2 separate regions of the Homo sapiens genome follow, and region 1 is linked to region 2. Evidence: promoter capture Hi-C in human tissues and cell types (Jung and others, 2019). All regions are on one chromosome and are shown on one strand. Each heading gives the region's core, a stretch centred on a gene start or on the middle of the fragment in contact. The rest is flanking DNA. Distances are from core to core; before and after follow the strand shown. Region 1 holds the start of ZNF891 (zinc finger protein 891). Region 2 holds the start of PGAM5 (PGAM family member 5, mitochondrial serine/threonine protein phosphatase).

Region 1 (6,617 bases), core at 977-3,476, 420 kb after region 2:
AAAATAATTACATTGTGATTTAAGGATGTAGAAAGAAGGCAGCCAAAGTTCTTATTTAACATGATAAAAATTTTAAAATAATGTCACAAATCGGTGAATAAAAAAATACTGAGAGGAGTTCGAAGCCAGAACTGCTTAAATATTTCCAAGTGGTTGCCACTGGGAAGAGATGGGGTTAAGGTGTTTCCTGTTTTTATTATGAGTCTTTTAACATATTCAGCTCTTAAAAATGTACACACACATTTCTTGGAGCACAAATAAAGAGTAGTAAATTAATTACCCAGTCAAATCAAGAAGCAGATGGCCAGGCACGGTGGCTCACGCCTGTAATCCTAGCACTTTGGGAGGCCAAGGCGGGCGGATTGCCTGAGCTGAAGAGTTCGAGACCAGCCTGGGCAACACCGTGAAACCCCGTCTCTACTAAAAAATACAAAAAATTAACCGGGCATGGCAGTGTGCGCCTGTGATCCCAGCTATTCCAGAGGCTGAGGCAGGAGAATGGCTTGAACCCGGGATGTGGAAGTTGCAGTGAGCAGAGATCCTGCCATTGCATTCCCGCCTGGGCGAGAGAGAGAGACTCTGTCTCAAAAACAAACAAACAAACAAAAACAAAAATTAGCTGGATTAGCCGGGCGTGGTGGGGCCTGAGGCAGGAGAATCGCTTGAATCCGGGTGGTAGAGGCTACAGTGAGCCGAGATCACGCCACTGCACTCCAGCCTGGAGACAGAGTGAAACTCTGTCTCGAAAAAAAAAAAAAAGTAGAAAAACAGAGACAAAGTAAAAGAAAAATTTAAAAATTAAGAGCAAAACTTACTGTAATAGGACCCCCCTCCCCAAAAAAGACCAAAACAAAACAACAAAAAAACCAAAACCAAATCTACATTTTTGAAAAGACTATGTACACATATACCTTATAGGAGTAATCAAGAAAAAAAGGCCTAGATAATTAGGTTCAAAAAAGAAAAAAATAACAATTACAGCAGTAAAATATTAAAAAGTGGTGATTTTAAAAATCACCATAGAAATTACTTACAGTGATAAAATAGCATGGGCAATTTTATGCCAATAAATTTGAAAAATTAGATTAAAAACAATTATCTAGGAAAGGTATCTAAAACAGAATACGAACTAAAAAACCTAATCAATGAGACTTTTTAAAAAATTGAGTCAGGGCCGGGTGCGGTGGCTCACGCTTGTAATCTCAGCGCTTTGGGAGGCCGAGGCAGGCTGATCACCTGAGGTCGGGAGTTCCAGACCAGCCTGACCAACATGGAGAAACCCCATCTCCACTAAAAATACAGAATTAGCTGGGCGTGGTGGCTCATGTCTGTAATCCCGGCAACTCACAAGACTGAGGCAGAAGAATCACTTGAACCCGGGAGGCGGAGGTTGCTGTGAGCCAAGATGGCGCCATTGCACTCCAGCCTGGGCAACAAAGAGCGAAACTCTGTCTCAAAAAAAAAAAAAAAAAAAATTGAGTCAGAAGTTAAATGCGTACTAAATATTTTAAGACCAAATAGCACCAAACTTTTGGAGGCGGGCGGGGGGCGGTGAGGGGTGGTGACCTGTTTTACAGAATAGAAGAGAGACTGTGCTGTCCAAATTATTCATGAAGCTTGTAAAATCTTGTTAGTATAACGGGCAAGGATAGTACACAAAAAGATTAAAACACAATCTTGTGAGCATAGGTGAAGTCAAAGGGAAACAGCCAATTGAATACACCAGAGTATTAAAGAAATAAAACCATATCGCATTCAACCACAGTATAAGGCAATAGGTGAAAAAAACGATGGCTGTGATTCAACTCATTACTAGGTTTAGAGATTCAAGAGAGGCTGCTGGACAGAGGCGTGCACCCTTTAGCCCTCCCGTGTTGCTTAGAGAAGGAGGCAAACGCGCATCCCCGGCCCCCCAGCGCTCCCTGCGTGGCACCCGCAGCCAGCCCGGGACCCCTCCGCCCCGCGCGCCCCTGGTCCCCACTCGCTCCCCGCGCTCCACTCGCACCCGGTAAGTAGCCCCTCCTCCCTCAAGGGCCTCTCCCACCGCCGCCTCCCGGGCAGGCTCCCTGCTGCTCAGACTCCCGTGAGGCGATCCCTGCACGCAGGAGAACTCAGCGGGCCAGGCTGATCCCACGAGGGACTTGTCCCGGGTGAACGAGCCACAGGCCCGCATGCTCACCCGTCCTCAGTGCCTGCCTCCAGGCGTCCGCGGTCCCGCCCGAGGGGGACGCGAGGCCGAACTACGTTTCCCAGGAGCTCCTGCGCCGCCCCGCAGAGGGGCCTGGTCTGTGCGTCACGGACGCGCTCTGGGCCGAAGGCCCGCAGGGTCCGGCACAGAGTGGCGGCTGCGGCGCCGGCGACGAATCGCCGGCTCTAGGGTCCCGGGGCGCGCGGCTGACGGGCTGGGGGCGGAGCGTGGCCTGAACGCCAGGCTGGGGCGCGTGCGTAACGGTGTGTGTTGTGGGTGCGTGTGCGTGCGTTCGCAGCAGGGGCGGGCGTAGGACCAATGGGGGCGGGGCGCGTGCGCGTGCGTGACGTCAGGCCACGGGGAGGTGGCGCCGCCGTGCCGAGCCGGCCTCAGACTCACCTCTGACGCCGCTCTTCGCGCTCCGCTGGTGAATGGAGTCGCGTTCTCTGTTTTGCTGTTGCTGCTGCCTTTGTGACGGGATCGCTTTCTCCCATCGAACCTTCTAGTTGCTTATTGCAGGTATATACGAAAGTGCTGAATTTTGTGTTTGCATCGTCATCAGGCGCGTGTTGAGCCCTTTAGTAATGTAGCAGTGTATTAGCTTCGTATTTCTAGGTAGACGGTAATTTCGTCAATGAAAAAATTTAACGGTGATCGTCACCCCTTGCCTCAGTCACTTTCTGTCCCTCGCGCGGCCCCGGCGTTCACGGCGGACGTTCTTGTTCTGTGGAGAATAACGGCTGCACCTGGAGATTGACGCAGAGTGGGCGGCGGTGGTGGTAAGTTTGAACCAGATATTTTCAGTAATACAAAATAAGGTTTCTTCTAGTCTAACTTCCATTTTTCCCCCCAGCTGGGATAGATGTTTAAAATTTTGCATATGGCCTTTCTAGTATTTGTTGAAATAGTGACGCCGATTCGTGTGTGGTCTTTTAAAAACAAATCCTGCATCTCTAGCTCTTAGCTTCCTCATCTTTGTTTTGTTTTTTAATCAGATAGATTAACTGAAGGCGTGTTTGTGTGGTTAATCTATTTTTTTTATTTTCAGAGACAGATCATAAGTTTAATTACTATATTTTTATTTTCCCTTGACACTAGATATATATACGCCATCTAACACATAATATGAGTGTCAAAGATAAGGTTAACATCAAGATTTCGTACGTAGATCCCACCCAAAGTGTATGCAGAAGGTGAACAATTTCAATTCCAGCTATACATTAATTGCAGAAAGATACTGTTAATTAAAAAAAAAAAAGTAAAAGGGAAGGCAGGATGTCACCCAGAATGCCAGCCAACAAGTGTTATTAGGTTAGAAATGACTGCAGTTAGGTCTCCGAGAACTGGATAGCACAAATCCTCCCTACCCTTTTGAAAATTACCTCCACACTAACTTTTCTCTTGTGACATAACTAATCTCTTCTGTTTTACTAAAATTGTCCCCCATCTTCCAAAGCCTCTTGGATGGTAAGTTGCACACGCTCCTGCCTCTTTTTGAAAGTTACATTTGTTTTTTGATTACTTCTCTCAGCATGCATTTCTTTAGCTCTTAGTATATGCTAGTCACAAGGGCAGAGATTTGAGATACACATCATAAATTAAATGAGAATTTCTGCTTATCAGTATTTTATATAAGCACTGTCTGGAAATTCTACTTAGGACAATATTTAAGTAGATATGAGGCTTACCTTCTGGAAAAGAGATTACAAAATTATCCTTGTTAATTAATTAACTAATTAAGTCCCCAAAATGAGAAGAGATTCAATTACTATCAATAATTTGTAGTAAAGTGACTGAAAAGGAAATATATAAGCTAATAGATTGATTGCCGTCCTCAACAAGTTAGCACATACTTTTATTTTTAAAAAGTCTTCACAATAGGAAGAAAATAATTTTAGCTAGAAATATATGTGAACTATATGAGAAAAACTTCAAAACCTTACTAGGCAATTCTTACTAGAAGAATAAAGGATGAGTAAGAATAAAAACAGTTCTGTTTATAGATTATATTCAATTGTCAAGAAAATCTGAGAATTTTTTTTTTTTTTTTTGAGATAGAGTTTTGTTCTTGTTGCCCATGCTGGAGTGCAATGGCTCGATCTTGGCTCACTGCAACCTCTGCCTCCTGGGTTCAAGCAATTCTCCTGCCTCAACCTCCCTAGTAGCTGGGATTACAGGCGCCAGCCACCATGCCCAGCTAATTAACATATGCCAGTCACAAGGGCAGAGATTTGAGATACACATCTTAAATTAACAAGAGCAACAAGAGCGAAACTCCGTCTCAAAAAAAAAGTATTTTAAGGAAAAAGAAATTTCTTATTGTTAATATCTCTGTTGTGCCTACAAGAGACTCTTTTACTTTCATCAGCAGTACTCTTTCTAGCATGTCTCATGTCAGCCAGGGCTTTTAATTCTTCTGGCTATGAAGCAAGGTTGGGACAAGATATGATATAGGCCACCTTTGTCTGTGTATGTGCCTCTTTGACTCGTAATGAACATCCAAGAGCATTATTTTTTCCTCTTTCCACACAATATCTCCTTGCTGACTGATCCTAACATTTCCTGTTCAAAATTTTATTATGAAGAATTTTGAGCATACAGCTAAATTAAAAGAAGTTTACAGTGAATACTTATAAACCTTCCCATCTAGACTCTACCATTAATATTTTACTGTACCTAATTTTAACACATACCCATCTGTCCCTCTTTTTATCCATCAGTTCATTGTATTTTTAAATTTTTTTCAAAGTAAATTGACATGGGTACGTATTCCTTAAAAATTTCAGAATACGTATGTATTATTAATTAGAATTCTATATTTGTTTAGATTTTTCTTTAGATGTAAAATTTACATAACATGAAAAGCGCAAATCTTAAGTGTACATTTGCTGAGTTTTGACAGATGCAGGATCTTTGCCTTTTGTATCTTTAAGTATATCTTTGCCATGTCTATTGGTTACCGAGTTTTAACTTTGTGGCTGCTGGGTCCTTTTTGCTGATCATACCTTGCCCTTTGCTGAAGCAAATACTGGTAAACCTATTCAGAACTTGAAGAGACCCTGTTCTCTTTATTAATGAACATGTACTCCATGTCCCCAAGTGAAATGCGGTTCCTGACGAGGTTGTACCTGTCAATGTGAGTGCTGGTTAAGTATAGTCACATGTCAGAGTGAATGAATATGAAGTGCTAAGCACTTTGCTAGCCTCTTCCCAGGATTTAGAATGAGATTGTCCTAATTCTTAAGTGGTTCACTATCTCATAAGGGAGACAGACAAATCTTGGTACCGTAAGGCAGCGTTGAAGTGCTGGAATAGGGCATGGGCAGAGTCCTTCATGTTTACGGATGATAGAACCACTGATCCTCTCTGAGATAGTGGGAAGGCGTCACAGCATAGATGGCATTAAAGTGATCCTTAGAGAATATGGGGCAAGTGTAGTGGGAGTTAAGTTGAAAAGGGTCCAGAACGTTGTTGTGAAACTTGTACGCTAAGTGTTTGATTGGAGCTGTGCTTTGGAACTGCGTGTGCCTCAAATAGTAACTTTCATAGCCTTCTTGCCGATACTTGGAGCTTCTTTTCAGCCCATCTCTGCCCTTGTGGCAGCCAAAATAATGGCTCCCCAGAGATATCCCCAGCACCTGGGAATATTTTACCTTATACTGCAAAATAAAATTTGCAGTTGTGATTCAATGAAGGATCTCAAGATGGGGAGAGATTATCCTGGATTATTTCAGTGGGCTTAGTGTAATAACAGGGGTCCTTAAAAGTAAAAGAGCTGGGTGGCCGGGCACGGTGGCTCACGCCTGTAATCCCAGCACTTTGGGAGGCCAAGGTGGGGAGATCACCTGAGGTCAGGAGTTCGAGACCAGCCTGGCCAACTTGGTGAAACCCTGTCGCTACTAAAAATACAAAAAAAAAAAAAAAAAAATTAGCTGAGTGTGGTGGTGGGCGCCTGTAATCCCAGCTATATGGGAGGCTGTGGCAGGAGAATCACTTGAACCCAAGAGGCGGCGGTTGCAATGAGCCGAGATTGCTTCACTGCACTCCAGCCTGGGCAACAGAGCAAGACTCCCTCTCAAAAAAAAAAAGTAAAAGGGGGATAAGAAGGTTAGCAATCAGGGAAATATAACCATGAAAGAAAGGCACAGAGAAATGTATCATTGCTGGCCTTGCAGGTGGAGGAAGGGTCAGGAGCCAAGGAGTGTAGATGGTCCTAGACACTGGACGGGGGCAAGGAAATAGATTCTTCTCTAGAGCCTCCAGAAGGAACACAGCTCTGCCAACACCTTAATTTTAGCCCTCCGAAACCTGTATCAGACTTCTGACCTCCAGAATTGTTATGTAACAAATGTGTGTTGTTGAAAACCACAAAGTTTTGATAATTGGCAGCAATGGAAAACTAATATAGCCCTCTGTCCTTAAGAGTTTA
Region 2 (6,864 bases), core at 946-3,445:
CCTTGTTTTTTATTTTATTTTTTGAGATGGAGTCTTGCTCTGTCACCCAGGCTGGAGTGCAGTAGTGTGATCTCAGCTCACTGCAGCTTCTGCCTCCTGGATTCCAGCGATTCTCCTGCCTCAGCCTCCTGGGTAGCTGGGATTACAGGTATGTACCAGCTAATTTTTGTATTTTTAGTAGAGATGGGGTTTCACCATGTTGGCCAGGCTGGTCTCAAACTCCTGATCTCAGGTGATCTGCCCGCCTCGGCCTCCCAAAGTGCTGGGATTACAGGCATGAGCCACTGAGCCTGGCTGATTTTCTTTTTTTTGAGACAGAGTCTCTGTCACCCAGGCTGGAGTGCAGTGGCACCATCCTGGCTCACTGCAACCTCTGCCTCCCAGGTTCAAGCGATTATCCGGCCTTAGGCTCTCGAGTAGCAGGGACTACAGGCGCGCACCACCACGCCAGGCTTTTTTGTATTTCAGTAAAGACGGGGTTTCACCATGTTGGTCAGGCTGGTCTTGATCTCCTAACCTCGTGATCCGCCCACCTCAGCCTCCCAAAGTGCTGGGATTACAGGCGTGAGGCACTGCGCCCGGCCCAATTTTCCTTTATTTTTTTGAGACAGAGTCTCGCTCTGTCGCCCAGTCTGGAGTGCAGTGGCGCGATCTCGGCTCACTGCAAGCTCCGCCTCCCGGGTTCACGGCATTCTCCTGCCTCAGCCTCCCTAGTAGCTGGGACTACAAGCACCCGCCACCATGCCCTATTTTTTTTTTTTTTTTTTGTATTATTAGTAGAGACGGGTTTTCACCGTGTTAGCCAGGATGGTCTCGAGCTCCTGACCTCGTGATCCGCTCACCTAGGCCTCCCAAAGTGCTGGGATTACAGGCGTGAGCCACCACGCCCGGCCTTCCTTTTATTTTTATTTTTTAAATCTTCCTATCATTTTTAGTAAATGACCTGGAAGCAGCAGACCCAACTGGAAGCGTACAGGTTCAAGAAAGCCTGTTTAAGCAGAAGTCTCAGTATTTCTGTGGAACCATTCAGTTTTTTTATTTTTATTTTTTTGAGACATTGTTTCACTCTGTTGCCCAGGCTGGAGTGCAGTGAGGCAATCTCAGCTCACTGCAACCTCCGCTTCCTGGGTTCAAGCAACTCTCCTGCCTCAGCCTCCTGAGTAGCTGGTATTACAGGCTGGAGCCACCGTGCCCGGCTAATTTTTGTATTTTTAGTAGAGACCGGGTTTCACCATGTTGGCCAGGCTGGTCTCAAACTTCTGACCTCAGGTGATCCGCCTGTCTCGGCTTCCCAAAGTGTTGTGATTACACGCGTGAGCCACCGAGCCCAGGCCCAAGTGATTTTTAAATAGCTTAAATCAGATCATGTCATTTCCCAATTTTAAAATGGGCAGAGATGGTCCAGCAATCCCACTTCTGGGTACAGACGCAAAACAATCAATGAAAGAGAGATCTGCACGCAGCACTGTTCACGCTAGCGAGGAGATGGCAACAGGGCAAGCGTCCAGCAATGGGTAAGCGGTGGGGTCGGTGCACGCAGGCGTCCAGCAATGGGTAAGCGGTGGGGTCGGTCCACCCAGGGAGCGCTGGTCCCCCTGGAAGGAAACCCAGGCTCTAACGCGGTCCCTCTGAGGACCCTGCTAGGCGAAACGCGCCGGCCATAGAAAGACTGTCCCGCAGGAGAGGGCGGTGTTCGGCCCGGGGTTTGAGGGGTCGGGACCAGGAGGAGGGACAGCCCGGCCGAACCTGAACGCACTTCAGGCCGCTTGAACAGCACACGCAGGAACTGCGCCGACGGAAAACTTTACTTCGTGTTCCGCCACCAAAAAAATATCGTTTAAACAAACCTGCGGCAGCTTCCCAGCTCCCTTAAACCAGGATCCCAAGTTCTCCGCGTCTCCGCCCCTGCACCCAGCCTCCGGCCTCGGCAGGCGCTTCCGGTGCGGAACCTTCTGGAAAGTACCGCGCCGCCCTCCCGGCGTCCCCACAACCCCGCCCGCACCTGCGCGCACCGGCGCTCGCGAGCACAAGTGACGGGACTGGAGCGTGGCGCGGCAGGTGGCTCCACGAAAACGCCCCTTCGCGCAAGGCTGCCCCGCGTCCTGCCGCGCCCCAGGAGGCGGGACTTCCGCCCCCGCCGCCCGGAAGCGGCAGCCGGGGGAAGCGTGTTCCTCGCGGAGCGCCGTCGGGGCCGTGGGCGCCTGCGCGGGCCGGCGCGGGAGCAAGCGGCATGGCGTTCCGGCAGGCGCTGCAGCTGGCGGCCTGCGGGCTGGCCGGGGGCTCGGCCGCCGTGCTCTTCTCGGCCGTGGCGGTAGGGAAGCCGCGCGCAGGCGGGGACGCGGAGCCACGCCCGGCTGAGCCGCCGGCCTGGGCGGGGGGCGCGCGGCCGGGCCCCGGTGTCTGGGACCCCAACTGGGACAGGTGCGCGCGGGGCTGTTTGGGGCCGGGGTCGGGATGGGGGTCAGGGCAGGTGTTACCGTTGGGATCGAGATCGGGACCAGGTTTAAGGTTGCGATCGGGTCGGGATCTGGGGTCGCCGTCTGCTTTCCCCAGCGGAGGAGCCGCTTTCCGGGGCCGCTCTGCGCGGAGGGTTCCGGGGGCGGCTGACCCTTCCCGCCGGCTTCTGTGGCCGAGCTCCGTCGCGTCCTCGCCCTTCTCCCCGCCCCTGCGAGTCCGCCCTGGGTGCCATCGCCGGAGCGCGGGCCGGGGCGAGGCTGAGGTGGAAGCCGGGCCTCCTTCAGGGGCGTTTGCAGGAGCGCGCCCGCGAGCTGCGTGCGGTTATTGAGCGTTTGAAATATGGCTCGTGTGATTCCTGAAGGGAATGCTTAGTTTACGTCAATTTAAACTTAACGCAAGCAGGGCCGGGTGCGGTAGCTCAGGCCTGTAATCCCAGCGTTTGGGAGGCTGAGGCCGGAGGATCGCTTGAGAAATTTGAAACCAGCCTGGGCAACATAGTGAGACCCCCATCTCTACAAAAAATACAAAAAAAATTGGCCGAGCGAGGTGGCGCGCGCCTGTGGTCCCAGCTACTCGGGAGGCTGAGGTAGGAGGATCCCTTGAGTCCAGGGGTCCCAGGCTGCACAGTGTGAGCCGAGATCCCGCCACTTCACTCCAGCCTGAGCAACAGAGCCTGTCTCAAAGGAAAAAAAAAAAAAGTAGTGCAGGTTTTTAACATTAGTTATGTGTTGAAATAGTATTTTTAGCATATTGAATTAAAAGTATGATCGAAATTCACCTGTTTCTTTTTAATGTTGCTATTAGAAAATGTATAATTTCACATGTTGCTGGCATTCTGTTTCTGTCGGCCAGGACTGCTCTAGCGGCAAGGATGGTTTTCCCAGTCCTAACTCCTCATTATACTCAGTACTTTGAGAAAGGGGGCACAGAATTATACTACTGTGGTTGCGTTAGGTACTTTATATTAGATTTTTATCTTTTGTTAACCTTATTTCCTCTATTATTAGCATCATACACTAAGCATGGTGTATATATCAAAATTAATGAGCCAAAATAATATAGATTAATTATAGTTATTATATTAGTTTATAATACATTACTGTTAACTAAGGTTCATGTTTCATTGAGATTTCCTCAGCTTTTACCTGCTGTTCTGTTCTAGGGTCCCACATGACAAGTAGTCTTCATGCCTCCGTAGGCATGTTTTGGCTGTGACAATTTCTCAGACTTGTTTTGATGATCATGAGTGTTTGAGGCGTCCTGGTCAGGGGTTTGGTAGAAGGTCCCTCAATTGAGACTTCTCTGAAGGTTTTCTCATGATTAGACTGGAGTTACATTCTTTTTCCTTCTTTTCTTTTTTCTTTTTCCTTGAGACGGAGTTTCGCTCTTGTTGCCCAGGCTGGAGTGCAATGGTGCAATCTCGGCTCACTGCAACCTCCGCCTCCCGGGTTCAAGCAATTCTCCTGCCTCAGCCTCCCGAGTAGCTGGGATTACAGGCACGCGCCATTATGCCCAGCTAATTTTGTATTTTTAGTAGAGACGGGGTTTCTCCATGTCGGTCAGGCTGGTCTTGAACTCCCAACCTTAGGTGATCCTCCCACCTCGGCCTCCCAAAGTGCTGGGATTACAGGCATGAGCCACCATGCCCAGCCTGTTATATTCTTTTTTAAAAATCAGAATTCTGAAAAATCAGAAATTCTGAATCAATATTCTGAATTTCTTAGGTCTTTTTAAGGAAACAGATTTACTCTGCCGTTAAAGAACTTGAAGTAGGCTGGGTGCGGTGGCTCACACCTGTAATCCCAGCATTTTGAGAGGCTGAGGTGGGCGGATCACTTGAGGTCAGGAGTTCGAGACCAGCCTGACCAACACGGTGACACTCTGTATTTACTAAAAATACAAAAAAATTAGCCAGGCATGGTGGCATGCACCTGTAGTCCTAGCTACTTGGGAGGCTGAGGCAGGACAATCACTTGAGCCCAGGAGGTGGAGGCTGCAGTGAGCCCAGATCGTGCCACTGCACTCCAGCCTGGGTGATAGAGTGAAACTCTGTCTCAAAAAAGAAAAAAAAGAACTTGAAGTAGAACCGGGAGCTGAGCCCAGCCTTTCTCTTTTAAGCAGGTGTTCTGTATTTGCTTGTCATGTCTGGGGAGAAGTGAATTGGGCCTTGTGGGTTGGGAAAGACTTATACAGACAGAAGGCATGAGCAACTACAGGAAGGTGCTAGAAGACAGCATGTTTCTTCTTGAGTCTCACCTGTCCACACTTGAAAGTTCCAGAGCCTCATCTGGTGAAATCTCCAGCTTCTTCCTGGAGGTCTCATGCAGTTTACGGCTTCCTGTCTCTGTGCCTATAGCTCCCAAATATTTTCTCTGGCTCAGCCTGACTCCCCCATACCTGCCAATTTGAGTCTTGGCCTGGTTTATGACAGGCCCCCAGGTCGGCGTGGCCCAAACGGAGCCCTTGAGTCACCACCGTGCCCTTCCACAGCTTCCTTTTCCGCCACTGTCTCAGCGAGTAAATACCAGCAGGTTCGACTTTTGCTATTCCCAGCTCTGCCGCGTTGAACTTTTTTTGTTGCTGTTGAGACAGGGTCTCGCTCTGTTGCCCAGGCTGGAGTGCAGTGCAGTGCAGTGGCAAGATCATGGCTCCCTCCTAGGCTCAAGCAATTCTCCCACCTCAGCCTCCTGAGTAGCCGGGACTACAGCTGTGGACCACCTTGCCCGGCTAATTTTTTAATGTTTTTGTAGAGACGGGGTCCCCCTGTGTTGCCCAGGCTAGTCTTGGACTCCTGGGCTCCAGTGATCTGCCCACCTCGGCCTCCCAAAGTGCTGGGATCCACTCTTTTTCAGATTCCAGCAGCTCTGGAACAGACCTTCATAATGGGAATGTTTTCTTCCTCACTGAGTGTTTGTTTATTTATTTATTTTCTGAGGCGGAGTCTCACTCTGTCGCCCAGACTGGAGTGCAGTGGCACGATCTCGGCTCTCTGCAACCTCCGCCTCCCAGGTTCAAGCGATTCTCCTGCCTCAGCCTCCCAAGTAGCTGGGATCACAGGCGTGTGCCACCAAGCCCGGCTAATTTTTGTATTTTGAGTAGAGGTGCAATTTCACCATGTTGGCCAGGCTAGTGTCGAACTCTTGACCTCAGTTGATCTGGCCACCTCAGCCTCCCAAATGCTGGGATTACACGTGTGAGCCACTGCACCCGGCCTGAGGGTCTAAAATGTGCTTAGTATGACTGAGGACATGATGTTTTAATTTTATTTAATTTTGCTTAAATTTTGAATTGAAACATCCTCATAGCTAGTGGCTGCTGTTGGGCATTGCAGTTCTAGGCTCTGCTGAAGCATCATGGTCAGGGAGGCCCATCTTGGCCCCGTGGACACTTTCCGCCTGCGCCCCGATAGCCGCTGTCCTCTTTCCTAGCCTGGCGTTCTCCGTAACCACAGTTGCGTTTGGGGTAGTCTGTCTCCTGCTGTTCACTGTCTGCCTCTCATTAGAGAAGAAGATGCACAGGGCTTTGCTTGTCTGTTTTGCTCTCCAGCGCATCACTCAGAACAGACCTGGCACTAGCTTTGTGGGAGGGAGAGTGGCGGTATGCTCAGAGAGGCCTCCCCAGGGCTGTGCCAAGGGCCTTGTCTTCTCTCCATGCTCTTCCCAAATAGTCTGACAATTTGGAAATAACATCTTGTCAGAAAAACTCAAACTTGGGAACAGAGGTCTCAAGGACATATCTTGTATTTCAACATCAGGCGAGAACCACTGTCTCTGATCAACGTGCGGAAGAGGAACGTGGAATCTGGGGAAGAAGAGCTGGCGTCCAAGCTGGACCACTACAAAGCCAAGGCCACGCGGCACATCTTCCTCATCAGGCATTCCCAGTACCACGTGGATGGCTCCCTGGAGAAGGACCGCACTCTGACCCCGCTGGGTATGTGGTGGGTTCAGATCCTCTGTGGACCCTCGTGGTTATGTGGCCAGGTGCATATCTGCTGGCGCCTTGGTTATGTGACTGGGTGCAGGTCCTCCGCCGACCCCCTTGGTCAGCTTTCTTGAAAGTGCTTGGGGCACTGGGCCTCCTGGGGCCCATGTCCGAGACCATCACCCCTGAATCACACATTATTACCAGTAACTGTCAGCTGAACTTGGACAGAAGACAAGCTTTTCAAAATGTCCTTACCTTGGCCGGGCGCGGTGGCTCACGCCTGTAATCCCAGCACTTTGGGAGGCCGAGGCAGGTGGATTACCTGAGGTCAGGAATTCGAGACCAGCCTGGCCAACCCGGCAAAACCCTGTCTCTACTAAAAGTACAAAAATTAGCCAGGTGCAGTGGTGGGCGCCTGTAGTCCCAGCTACTCGGGAAGCTGAGGCAGGAGAATGGTGTGAACCCTGGAGGCGGAGCTTG

Evidence for each region. Contacts are between HindIII fragments. The study calls those that stand out against the background at their distance.
Region 1: the fragment with the promoter of ZNF891 here is called in contact with the fragment with the promoter of PGAM5 in region 2 in 1 of the 25 tissues and cell types used here (liver).

Annotation. Positions count from the first base shown.
Region 1 is chr12:133,128,048-133,134,664 of GRCh38, forward strand. ZNF891 (zinc finger protein 891) reads right to left here and starts at 2,227. Exons shown (of 2, transcript NM_001277291.2): 1 at 2,180-2,227. It overlaps ZNF10 (zinc finger protein 10), which reads left to right and starts at 2,580. Exons shown (of 5, transcript NM_015394.5): 1 at 2,580-2,707. RefSeq lists silencers at 1,843-2,022, 2,393-2,632 and enhancers at 2,683-2,962, 4,045-4,214. The HindIII fragment of the contact is 13,822 bases long and covers 1-6,617 here.
Region 2 is chr12:132,708,647-132,715,510 of GRCh38, forward strand. PGAM5 (PGAM family member 5, mitochondrial serine/threonine protein phosphatase) reads left to right here and starts at 2,196. Exons shown (of 6, transcript NM_001170543.2): 1 at 2,196-2,421; 2 at 6,212-6,390. The coding sequence starts at 2,231. LOC124903063 (a long non-coding RNA gene) reads right to left here and starts at 1,949. Exons shown (of 2, transcript XR_007063551.1): 1 at 1,848-1,949. RefSeq lists an enhancer at 1,713-1,762 and silencers at 1,933-2,392, 2,603-2,712. The HindIII fragment of the contact is 20,255 bases long and covers 1-6,864 here.